Regions from separate parts of the Homo sapiens genome. Here regions 1 and 2 are each linked to region 3. The links are contacts of gene promoters, found by promoter capture Hi-C in human tissues and cell types (Jung and others, 2019). All regions are on one chromosome and are shown on one strand. The core of a region is centred on a gene start or on the middle of the fragment in contact, and the rest is flanking DNA. Distances in the headings are between cores, read along the strand shown.

The links. Contacts are between HindIII fragments. The study calls those that stand out against the background at their distance.
Region 1: a fragment that was not itself captured here is called in contact with the fragment with the promoter of HPSE in region 3 in 1 of the 25 tissues and cell types used here (neural progenitor cells).
Region 2: a fragment that was not itself captured here is called in contact with the fragment with the promoter of HPSE in region 3 in 1 of the 25 tissues and cell types used here (bladder).

What each region holds. Positions count from the first base shown.
Region 1 is chr4:83,464,388-83,467,966 of GRCh38, reverse strand. ABRAXAS1 (abraxas 1, BRCA1 A complex subunit) reads left to right here. Exons shown (of 9, transcript NM_139076.3): 7 at 429-513. Among named protein-coding and RNA genes, the nearest start is that of MRPS18C, 10 kb to the right of the region's middle. The HindIII fragment of the contact is 8,435 bases long and covers 1-3,579 here.
Region 2 is chr4:83,542,434-83,546,342 of GRCh38, reverse strand. It overlaps GPAT3 (glycerol-3-phosphate acyltransferase 3), which reads right to left. Exons shown (of 12, transcript NM_032717.5): 2 at 1,741-1,807. Among named protein-coding and RNA genes, the nearest start is that of GPAT3, 8.3 kb to the right of the region's middle. The HindIII fragment of the contact is 3,605 bases long and covers 1-3,198 here.
Region 3 is chr4:83,332,754-83,336,126 of GRCh38, reverse strand. HPSE (heparanase) reads left to right here and starts at 1,279. Exons shown (of 12, transcript NM_001098540.3): 1 at 1,279-1,571. The coding sequence starts at 1,345. The HindIII fragment of the contact is 4,578 bases long and covers 1-3,365 here.

The sequences.
Region 1 (3,579 bases), core at 546-3,045, 130 kb before region 3:
CTTCTTAGAATTACTTTCTTCATTATTTTATGGATCATAAAATAATGATGTCTCTTTCAAGTAAAGGTAACTTGAATTCAGTAAAATATTTTAAAAATTGACTCCGGTTCCCATTGCCAATAGAGACTTTTTTTCCTTCCTTCAATTTTTATCTATTTTTATGCAATCTTCCCCCATCCCCCGCCCATCCTCGCCTTTTTGGGAGACCTGGCAATAGTACTTAGGAGGCTAAAAAGTTTGCTAATGTGAAGATCAATGAAGTAGGTTTTGTGGTTGGTTTTTCTCTATACACATAGATTGACAAAATTATGGTTCCTACAAAACCAGTAAAAAGACTCTTCTATTGGTCCTTGACAATGAATAAGTTTTTCACCTTATCATTAAAATGGTTTTGTGTATTTGCCTGAGGAAATGGTAATTTTTTACAGCTCTAAATTTTTTGAAGAAGATGGATCCTTAAAGGAGGTACATAAGATAAATGAAATGTATGCTTCATTACAAGAGGAATTAAAGGTAAGTTAACATATCAAACACGTCAACCACTTCTAGATAGAGTTCATATCAAGTTAATGACTGACATTTTTTAGGATAACCTGACATCTTGATTAGATTTATACAGTTATGAGTTGCTTAATGAAGGCTATGTACCTTCTGAGAAATGTGTCATTAGGCAGTTTTATCATTGTGCAAACATATACTTACACAAACCTATATGTATTTTTACTTTTTAGTTTTCATAGGGAAAACCAAATGTCCCCAAATTATTATTGAATATCAGTCATTTCCCCTATTTGATCTGTAATGCCAATATCAAGTGCTATATATCAGCTTTCTATATGTGCTCCAATATAATCTTGTGAGACCCCATCATAGATGCTGTCCCTTGTTGAACGAGATGTCATTATTCCTTTAGCTTCATTGACTGAGTTGTATTTCTTCAGCTGTAGTTAACAAAGATTGCAATCTCAGTGGCTTACAACAACTATGGTTTAGTCTTGCTCACATTTTATCTTGGCTGTAGCTCTACTCCTTTTCTGAATGTCATCTTCATCCAGGATCCAGGCTGAAGGAGCAGCCCTTATTTGGGACATGTCCTCATGGCATAAGGCAAAGAGCAAGAAAGCTAGTGGAGCCAGGCGCAGTGGCTCACGCCTGTAATCCCAGCACTTTGGGAGGCCGAGGTGGGCGGATCACGAGATCAGGAGATCGAGACCATCCTGGCTAACACAGTGAAACCCCGTCTCTACTAAAAATACAAAAAAAATTAGCCGGGCATGGTGGTGGGCGCCTGTAGTCCCAGCTACTCGGGTGGCTGAGGCAGGAGAATGGCGTGAACCCAGGAGATGGAGCTTGCAGTGAGCCAAGATCGTGCCACTGCACTCCAGCCTGGGCAACAGAACGAGACTCCGTCTCAAAAAAAAAAAAAACTAGTGGAAATTCACAACAGCTCTTAAAACTTTGCTTAAAACGGCCATGTCACTTCTACTCACATTTCACTGGCCTGAACACATCACATGGTAATAGGCAGGGATATATAATCCTTCTTACAGAATAGAGGGAAGTATATTTGGGAACAGTATACTTCCCTCTACTTCATGTGTCAGTTCTTCTTCATGTGTCAGTTCAGGTCCTTTTAGAACTAGATGTCAAGATGGGATTATAAGTGCAGGAGATTTATTGGGCCTGAGAAGGATAAAGAAGAGGAAGAAAGAACAGGCAGGAAGAGCCTTCAGACAACACTGCAAGTCTGACCCCTGAGAAAGGAGAGGGGGATAAGAAGACAAGTGGTTAGGAAGAGTCTCAGACTGCAGCGCCATTTTAAGAACGTTCCACTAGGCTGATAGGGAGTCTTTGAGCAAAGTTGCCCGAAAATTGTTCTATAGGCATGGACTTGCACTAATACCTGCAGTGTGCTTAGTCATTGGCTAGGAACAGCCCAGGGGAAGTGTGGCTTAACACAGTGGTAGGTCCAAAGCTGGGGCTGTTAAGTCAACTATGCTTCCCCCAGTTGGAGATCTTACTAAGGAGTATATTTCCATGGCCACCACACTCATCAGTAGAGCACACTAACAGAAAAGCAGTTAAAATAAATATTTTGATTCATATTACACTACTTTTTCATATGAAACGGGAATTTTAGATGGTAAAAACATCCAGAATCTCACCATCTTATTTTTTAGAGACAGTGTCTTGCTCTGTTACCCAGGCTGGAGAGCAATGGCATGATCTCAGCTCACTACAACCACCACCTCTTGGGCTCAAGTGATCCTCCTCTTTCAGCCTCCAGAGTAGCTGAAACCACAGGTGTGCACCACTACACCCAGCTAATTTTTTGTATTTTGTGTAAAGACAGGATTTCACCATGTTGCCAGGCTGGTCTCCATCCCCTGCGCTCAAGCAATCCACCTTCCTTGGCCTCCCAAAGTACTGGGATTACAGGTGTGAGCCACCACATCCAGCCTGGAATCTCACCATTTTAACATAACTATTTTCACTCTGCCATTTGCTCCAGTTTTTCCTTAATATATGTATACTTTGATATAGTCAATAGTCATGGTGACATAAATTTGTCATGATTTTTAAAAAACTTGGTACATAAAACATTGTTTCTGTTGCTACATATTCTTTAGTTGTTTTTAGTTTCTTCTTTTTTTTTTTTTTTTTTTTGAGACAGAGTCTCAGTGTGTCGCCTGGACTGGAGTGCAATGAATGGCATGATCTTGGCTCACTGTAACCTCCGCCTCCCTGGTTCAAGAGATTCTCTTGTCTCAGCCTCCCAAGTAGCTGAGATTACACGCACCCACCACTACGCCAGGCTAATTTTTGTATTTTAAGTAGAGACAGGGTTTCGCCATGTTGGCCAGGTTGGTCTCGAACCCAAGACCTCAGGTTATCTACCTGCCTCAGCCTCCCAAAGTGCTGGGATCACAGGTGTGAGCCACCTTGCCCGGCCTCTTTATTTTTAATGGCAGTATATTTCATAGAGAATGTTATGGAAAAATACCAACTTGGGCTAAAATAGGGAATGTAGAGGTATATCATAAGAACTGTAGGCAGAAAGCAGCTGAACTTTAGGAAGGAATTGGAACCAGGAGCTAGAATGCCATAGAACTTTCTGTGTCTGCACATTGCTATCCTTCCAGACCTTTTTGTTTCTTCATCCACTGGCAGGCCAGAAAACAGCCAACCCACAGCTCCTGCATTTAGATCTCTTCTAGAGCATAAGATCTGCCAATTGGCTATGTAATACCTCCAGATTGCCAGGCAAGAATCTCATTGGTTCTGTTTGGGTCAGCTCTGGTGAAAGGTGGGTACAGGGGTAACTGGCAAACTCTTATGTCAGGGCAAAAAAAGTTTGTAAAAAGTAGGCTTGGCAGACATCCTAAAAAGTGTCCACTAAAACTGGCAAAACAACTATTACCCTACAGTTGGAAATTAGTTGCTTTTTTTACTAATTAGTTGTTCTCCCCTCCCCCAGTTGTTTTATGTTATACTAAGAAACATCATCTTATATTTTTGTTGTTATTCAGATATATTCCCAAATGGAATTATGGCATCAAAAGTTACTGGTATTCATAC
Region 2 (3,909 bases), core at 147-2,646, 210 kb before region 3:
TTTTAATCCCATCACCTGCCAAATTGAAATACTTTGTGTCCTTTAAAACTCATGGCTGGGCCGGGTGCAATGGCTGATGCCTGTAATCCCAGCACTTTGGGAGGCCGAGGTGGGAGGATCGCTTGAGGTCAGTAGTTTGAGACCAGCCTGGCCAACATGGTGAAACCCCTTCTCTACTAAAAATACAAAAATTAGCCAGGCATGGTGGCGCACGCCTGTAGTCCCAGCTACTCAGGAGGCTGAGACAGGAAAATCACTTGAACCTGGGAGGCAGAGGTTACAGTGAGCCGACATCTCGCCACCGCACTCCAGCCTGGGGGACAGAGGGAGACTTTGTCTCAAAAGCAGAAAATTTAATTAATTTAATTTAATTTAAATAAGAAAATTAAATTAAATTAAAATTCATGGCCCAAAACATGTACCACAATCACCCCAATCTATTAAGGCCCACTGATTTTCTCTCAAGATCAACAGCTCAGAGTCTCACCAAGCACAACAGAAAACCAGCAACAAAGTTTGTTCTTTCCTTAAATCATAAGGACATACATTTTTTAATGAACCAGAATAATTTTTTTAAATGATAGAGCTGCTATATTTCAGAGAAGGTATCTGGCAATTAAAAAAAGGATAAAATATAGCCAGAAATATCCGGACTTGGTAAAAATGTGATTGGTGATAATATTTGGGTGTTTAAGTATACACCATGAAGCTCTACTAGTTGCTTCAATCATTTGAAAATCATAATCCAATTATACAAAAATACTCCAATGTTTTCAAATATTTTGTTATTTCCAAAACTCACTATAGAATACAATTTCTACAATTCCTTTTAGAAAAGCTTCCAGAAGATAAATTCCTTCCAGTAAAGTATTTGATAGTTTGACTTTTTTTTTTTTTTAAATGAGGTCTCACTGTATTGCCCAGGCCAGAGTGCAGTGGCATGATCACAGCTCACTACAGCCTCAACTTCCAGGGTTCAAGTGATCCTCCCACCTCAGGACCCCACTCTGAGTAGCTGGGACTACAGGTGCGCACCACCACACTCAGCTAATTTTTGTATTTTTTGTAGAGACAGGGTTTCGCCATGTTGCCCAGGCTGGTCTTGAACTCCTGAGCCCAAGCGATCTGCCGGCCTCAGCCTCCCACAGTGCTGGGATTATAGGCGTGAGCCACTGCACCTGGTCAAGCATGTTTCTTTATTGCAGGACTTTTCTGAGCCTTTATTAGTAGGCACTAATACTCTCCAAAGGCAAGTATAGTATGTGATGATTCCTAAACTTATTTCACGAGAAAATTATTTTTTATTTCATGTATTACCAATTAGCCTTCAGCAGAAAAGAGTACTTTGAGGAACATACTTTGAGAATCACAAGTTGGTTAACGAAACCTCAATAATAGGTTTTAACTCCCAGGAACTCCCATTAGCCTTTTTCTTTCTTTTTTTTTTTCTTTTGGCCATCGACTACATCTTTAAAACCACGGACAGCCATCTTCAAATACATGCCCTTAGAAAGGAAAACAATACCTATAAGAACATATAGATGAGCTAACACATATTACCACCTTTACAATAAAAAGTCCATGAAAACTCTGGCAGCTGCAATTTTACACTGACAGAATTATGAAAGATCCAAACCCTATAGAACACACTGCTCTCTGCATATTTCAAGTTCAAATTGGGTAGGTTTACATCCACCCAATTTAAATATGGTAACAATCATAATGAAAAGGAAAACTCACCAACAGAAGCAGAGTTTTTAAGAATCGACTCCTTTGGGGTTCCTTTTTCAATTCGTATTGTGGCCCACTGTTCAAAAACAAGAAATATTAATTTAAACTGTCCCACAGACACAACATAAAACACTTCAACCATGATTATACAGAAGTGAAATTACACATCAAGCTCTGGCAGTGTCTGAACTAAAGAGCTAACCCCAGGGAATCTCTGATATAGCAATATTCCAAGTCCCAAGTATACTTTTATATCACTTACTGATAATACCCTAATAAAATGTGGAAAGGACAATATTTACCCTTTCTCAACTGCCTCACATGCATTGGTGACCTGATAAATTACTCCTTGAAAAGGCTGTGAAGCATGGGGGGCATGAGTACAGGTCACGGCATCAAGAATGTCTGGGTTTGAAATTACTTATTCCCTATAGGCCTCCGTTTCCTCATTGTAAAACAAGGATAATAGATCCTATCCCATAGGGTTGCTGTCACATTAAACAAGATGACACATGTAAGGGCCTAAACGTAGGGCGTAAAGTGTAACAATTATTTTCACAACAAATTAGACATTCAGGGGTAGGACACGCTCAAAGATGCATCAGAAATAAGCTTGCAGAAAGAGGCAGCACAGACTTGGAAAGCTGGAAAGGACTCGATGAAATCATTAACTAAGGCACGATTGGCTCATGCCTGTAATCCCAGCACTTTGGGAGGCCGAGGAGGGTGGATCACTTGAGGTCAGGAGTTCAAGACTAGCCTGGCCAACATGGCGAAACCCCATCTCTACTAAAAATACAAAAATTAGCCAGGCATGGTGACGCATGCCTGTAATCCTAGCTACTCTGGAGGCTGAAACAGAATTGCTTGAACCAGGGAGGAAGAAGGTGCAGTGAGCAGAGATCGGGCACCTGCACTCCAGTCTAGGCAACAGAGTGAGACTCTCTCAAAAAAACAAAAAAACAAAAAAAAAGAATGAAAAAGAAATCATGAACTACGGAAAATGATCTGTCCACATGGTTACTTATGAAGATGCATAGGAAAATGTTACAATTATGAAGATCTACAGATTTGAGGGAATTTAAGAACTGGAAAACAACTCTCACTTTGTTTTGAATATACCTAGGAGTATAAAGAAACGTACCCAGATGTGATTTTTTTATTTTTTTCTTTATACATTTTTTACACATTTCCCAAATTATTCACTATTAACATCATAGTTCAAAAACTGCTAGTGAACTTTTCAAGTCTCTCATTCTAGAGAATCCCAAGGGCTTTTATACTAAAAAGTACTGTAATAATTATTATTGAACATAAGCACCCTTGAAGGGGCAGAGACAAAATTTTTTTTTTTTGAGACAGGGGCTTGCTGCTGCCTTGACCTCCCAGGCTGAAGCAATCCTCCCACCTCAGCCTCCTGACTAGCTGGGACCACAGGCCCGCATCATCATTCCCAGCTAATTTTTGTATTTTTTGTAAAAACCGGGTTTCACCTTGTCGACCAGACTGTACTCAAACTCCTGAGCTCAGCAATCTACTGGCTTCAGCCTCCCAAAGTGCTGGGATTACAGGCGTGAGCTAACATTTTATATTTTATTTTATTTTACTTTTTGAGAAGGAGTTTTCGCTCTTGTTACCCAGGCTGGAGTCCAATGGCATGATCTCGGCTCACTGCAATCTCCACCTCCAGGGTTCAAGCGATTCTCCTGCCTCAGCCTCCCAAGTAGCTGGGACAACAGGCACCCACCACCAGGCCCAGCCAATTTTTGTATTTTTAGTAGAGATGGGGTTTCACTATGTTGTCCAGTGTGGTCTCGAACTGCTGACCTCAGGTGAGCCATCTGCCTCGGCCTCCCAAAGTGCTGGGATTATAGGTGTGACCCACTGCACCCAGCCCAGAGACAGATTTATTAATATGCCAAGTCAAAAACCTCAGTTATTGCTAAGCTCAAAAGAGTCTGTTGACTAGAGAGGTTAAAATTTTTTTCAAATAAATAAGAACATAACTGATAGAGAATAAATAACCTAAAACGTACATCAAGGTCAGGGAGTAACGCATGATATCTGACTACGTCAGGACCCCTTCAAAACAACCCACAGAGCCAAACAAGAACATGCCATTTGCACTTAGAGAACAGCCTATAAATAGAGGCCAATCTCCCAACTTCCAGTGACAAG
Region 3 (3,373 bases), core at 30-2,529:
TGAGACAAACTTAATCTCTGTTTTGGTGGAGCATATAATCTAGTAGATGAAGCCAATGTTGAGCAACATCACAATACTAACAAATTGAGGATGCTACGAGAGTGTCTAACAAATTGAGGATGCTACGAGAGTGTCTAACAAATTGAGGATGCTATGAGAGTGTGTCATGGAGAGCTGCCTGGAGATTGAGAGAAAGCTTCCTTGAGGGAAGTTACATTTCAGCTGAAACACACTGCCATCTGCTCGAGGTTTTGTAACTGCATTCACATCCCGATTCTGACACTTCACATCCCGATTCTGACACTTCACCCAGTTACTGTCTCAGAGCTTGGGTCCGCATGTGTAAAACAAGGACAGTATGCACTTGGCAGGGTTGTGAGAAGGGAAGAGAACACAAGTAAAGCACCTGTATCAGGCATACAGTAGGCACTAAGCGTGCGATGCTTGCTATGATTATACATCAGTGTAAGCATCAAGGAAAAGCTGAAGAAAAGTCTGACCAACAGCGAAAGATAAATGCGCAGAGGAGAAATTTGGCAAAGGCTCCAAATTCAGGGGCAGTCCGTACTCTACACTTTGTATGGGGGCTTCAGGTCCTGAGTTCCAGACATTGGAGCAACTAACCCTTTAAGATTGCTAAATATTGTCTTAATGAGAAGTTGATAAAGAATTTTGGGTGGTTGATCTCTTTCCAGCTGCAGTTTAGCGTATGCTGAGGCCAGATTTTTTCAAGCAAAAGTAAAATACCTGAGAAACTGCCTGGCCAGAGGACAATCAGATTTTGGCTGGCTCAAGTGACAAGCAAGTGTTTATAAGCTAGATGGGAGAGGAAGGGATGAATACTCCATTGGAGGTTTTACTCGAGGGTCAGAGGGATACCCGGCGCCATCAGAATGGGATCTGGGAGTCGGAAACGCTGGGTTCCCACGAGAGCGCGCAGAACACGTGCGTCAGGAAGCCTGGTCCGGGATGCCCAGCGCTGCTCCCCGGGCGCTCCTCCCCGGGCGCTCCTCCCCAGGCCTCCCGGGCGCTTGGATCCCGGCCATCTCCGCACCCTTCAAGTGGGTGTGGGTGATTTCGTAAGTGAACGTGACCGCCACCGAGGGGAAAGCGAGCAAGGAAGTAGGAGAGAGCCGGGCAGGCGGGGCGGGGTTGGATTGGGAGCAGTGGGAGGGATGCAGAAGAGGAGTGGGAGGGATGGAGGGCGCAGTGGGAGGGGTGAGGAGGCGTAACGGGGCGGAGGAAAGGAGAAAAGGGCGCTGGGGCTCGGCGGGAGGAAGTGCTAGAGCTCTCGACTCTCCGCTGCGCGGCAGCTGGCGGGGGGAGCAGCCAGGTGAGCCCAAGATGCTGCTGCGCTCGAAGCCTGCGCTGCCGCCGCCGCTGATGCTGCTGCTCCTGGGGCCGCTGGGTCCCCTCTCCCCTGGCGCCCTGCCCCGACCTGCGCAAGCACAGGACGTCGTGGACCTGGACTTCTTCACCCAGGAGCCGCTGCACCTGGTGAGCCCCTCGTTCCTGTCCGTCACCATTGACGCCAACCTGGCCACGGACCCGCGGTTCCTCATCCTCCTGGGGTAAGCGCCAGCCTCCTGGTCCTGTCCCCTTTCCTGTCCTCCTGACACCTATGTCTGCCCCGCCAGCCGCTCTCCTTCTTTTGCGCGGAAACAACTTCACACCGGAACCTCCCCGCCTGTCTCTCCCCACCCCACTTCCCGCCTCTCATTCTCCCTCTCCCTCCCTTACTCTCAGACCCCAAACTGCTTTTTGGGGGGTATCATTTAAAAAATAGATTTAGGGGTTACAAGTGCAGTTCTGTTCCATGGGTATATTGCATTGTGGTGGCATCTGGGCTCTTAGTGTAACTGTCACCCGAATGTTGTACATTGTATCTAATAGGTAATTTCTCATCCCTCATCCCTCTCCCACCCTCCCACCTTTTGGAGTCTCCAGTGTCTACTATTCCACTAAGTCCATGTGTACACATTGTTTAGCGCCCACTCTAAATGAGCCTTTTTGTTTCATTCATTCTGTAAGTGTTGAATAGGCACCACCTAAGGTCAGGTATAAGTGGAAATTTGAAAAAGAAACTGCCCACTTGCCCCAGTACTTCCCTAGCCAAGAGGAGGGAAACCAGGCAGGTGCACCTGAAGGCCTGTGAGTGCTTGATTTGCTGTGCAGTGTAGGACAAGTAAGATTGTGCATAGCCTTCTGTATTTAAGACTGTGTTAGGAAGATTTCTCTTTCTTTTCTTTTCTTTTTCTTTTTTCTTTTCTTTTTTTTTTTTTAGGCAGATGAAAAGGGCGTCACAGAACAGGAATAAAAATCTAAATATTCAATAAATGAGACCTAGGAGACTACTGCAGTGACTTACAAAGTCCTAATAAAAAGATGTCTCTCCAAAATGGGGCTGCAAAATGTGGTGCTGCCTTATCAGCTCTAAGTTTTTTCCTTACCTGAGAAAGAAGGAACCTGATGCAGGTTCAGGGCTCCTGCCCCATGAATGCAGGCTGACTCCAAGATGGGGAGCTACAGGGACAATCCCAGGTCTTCTAGGCCTCTTATTTAGGCCCTGGGAGCCTCCAGAGATGGCCACATCTTGACCAGCCCAGATAGAGGGAAAGATCACCATTATCTCACCTCTGTGTCAAATACCTAGATGCTGTCCTCCCTGAGCCCACACTATAGTTGCCAGCGCTAATTTAATGGGTAGTGTACTGGTTAAGAGATGGACAGACCATCCTGGCTTGACTCTCAGCTCTGGCAAAGATGAGTGACTTGGTTTTTCCATATCTCTTGGCCACACCAACCTTGATTTCTTCAGCTGTAGAATGGAATTTCTCAAGCTTGCCTCAAGGATTATTGCCCGAGGATTTGATGATATGGTAAGAGCTTCTCAGTGTTTGACCCATAGTAAGTGTTTGACGTTTCAAACGAATTGTTTCTTTCTAGGACATGGTGAGCATTTGGTAGCCATTCACCGGTTTTCTGTTTCTTTGGATCATAGTTAACCTCTCCTTTTCCTTCTGGCACTACAATTTTCTGGTGGGGAAGAATCCTTACTTTCTGCCCTTCCCCTTAAGGATAGGAAGCTGATACTAGGCAGCAACTAGTTGGGGGATAGGAAGATTGTTCCAGAGAAATGCTGAACCATAGGGCTCCAGATCACAGGACCCCAGTCTTAGCTTGCTGGGGTGTGGGGTGGGGGGGGGCGGTTACTGAACATGGGTATGAAGTAGATGTCCATTTACTGAAATGTGAGGACCTGAGGCCTCTTCTATTGCTGTAGCCAGCATATTCCCCAACCTCTCCCCAAGAAAGGACAGATGGGGGTTCCCCCCTGGAGTAACAGGTCCAAAAGAAAAAACATACAGTGGGA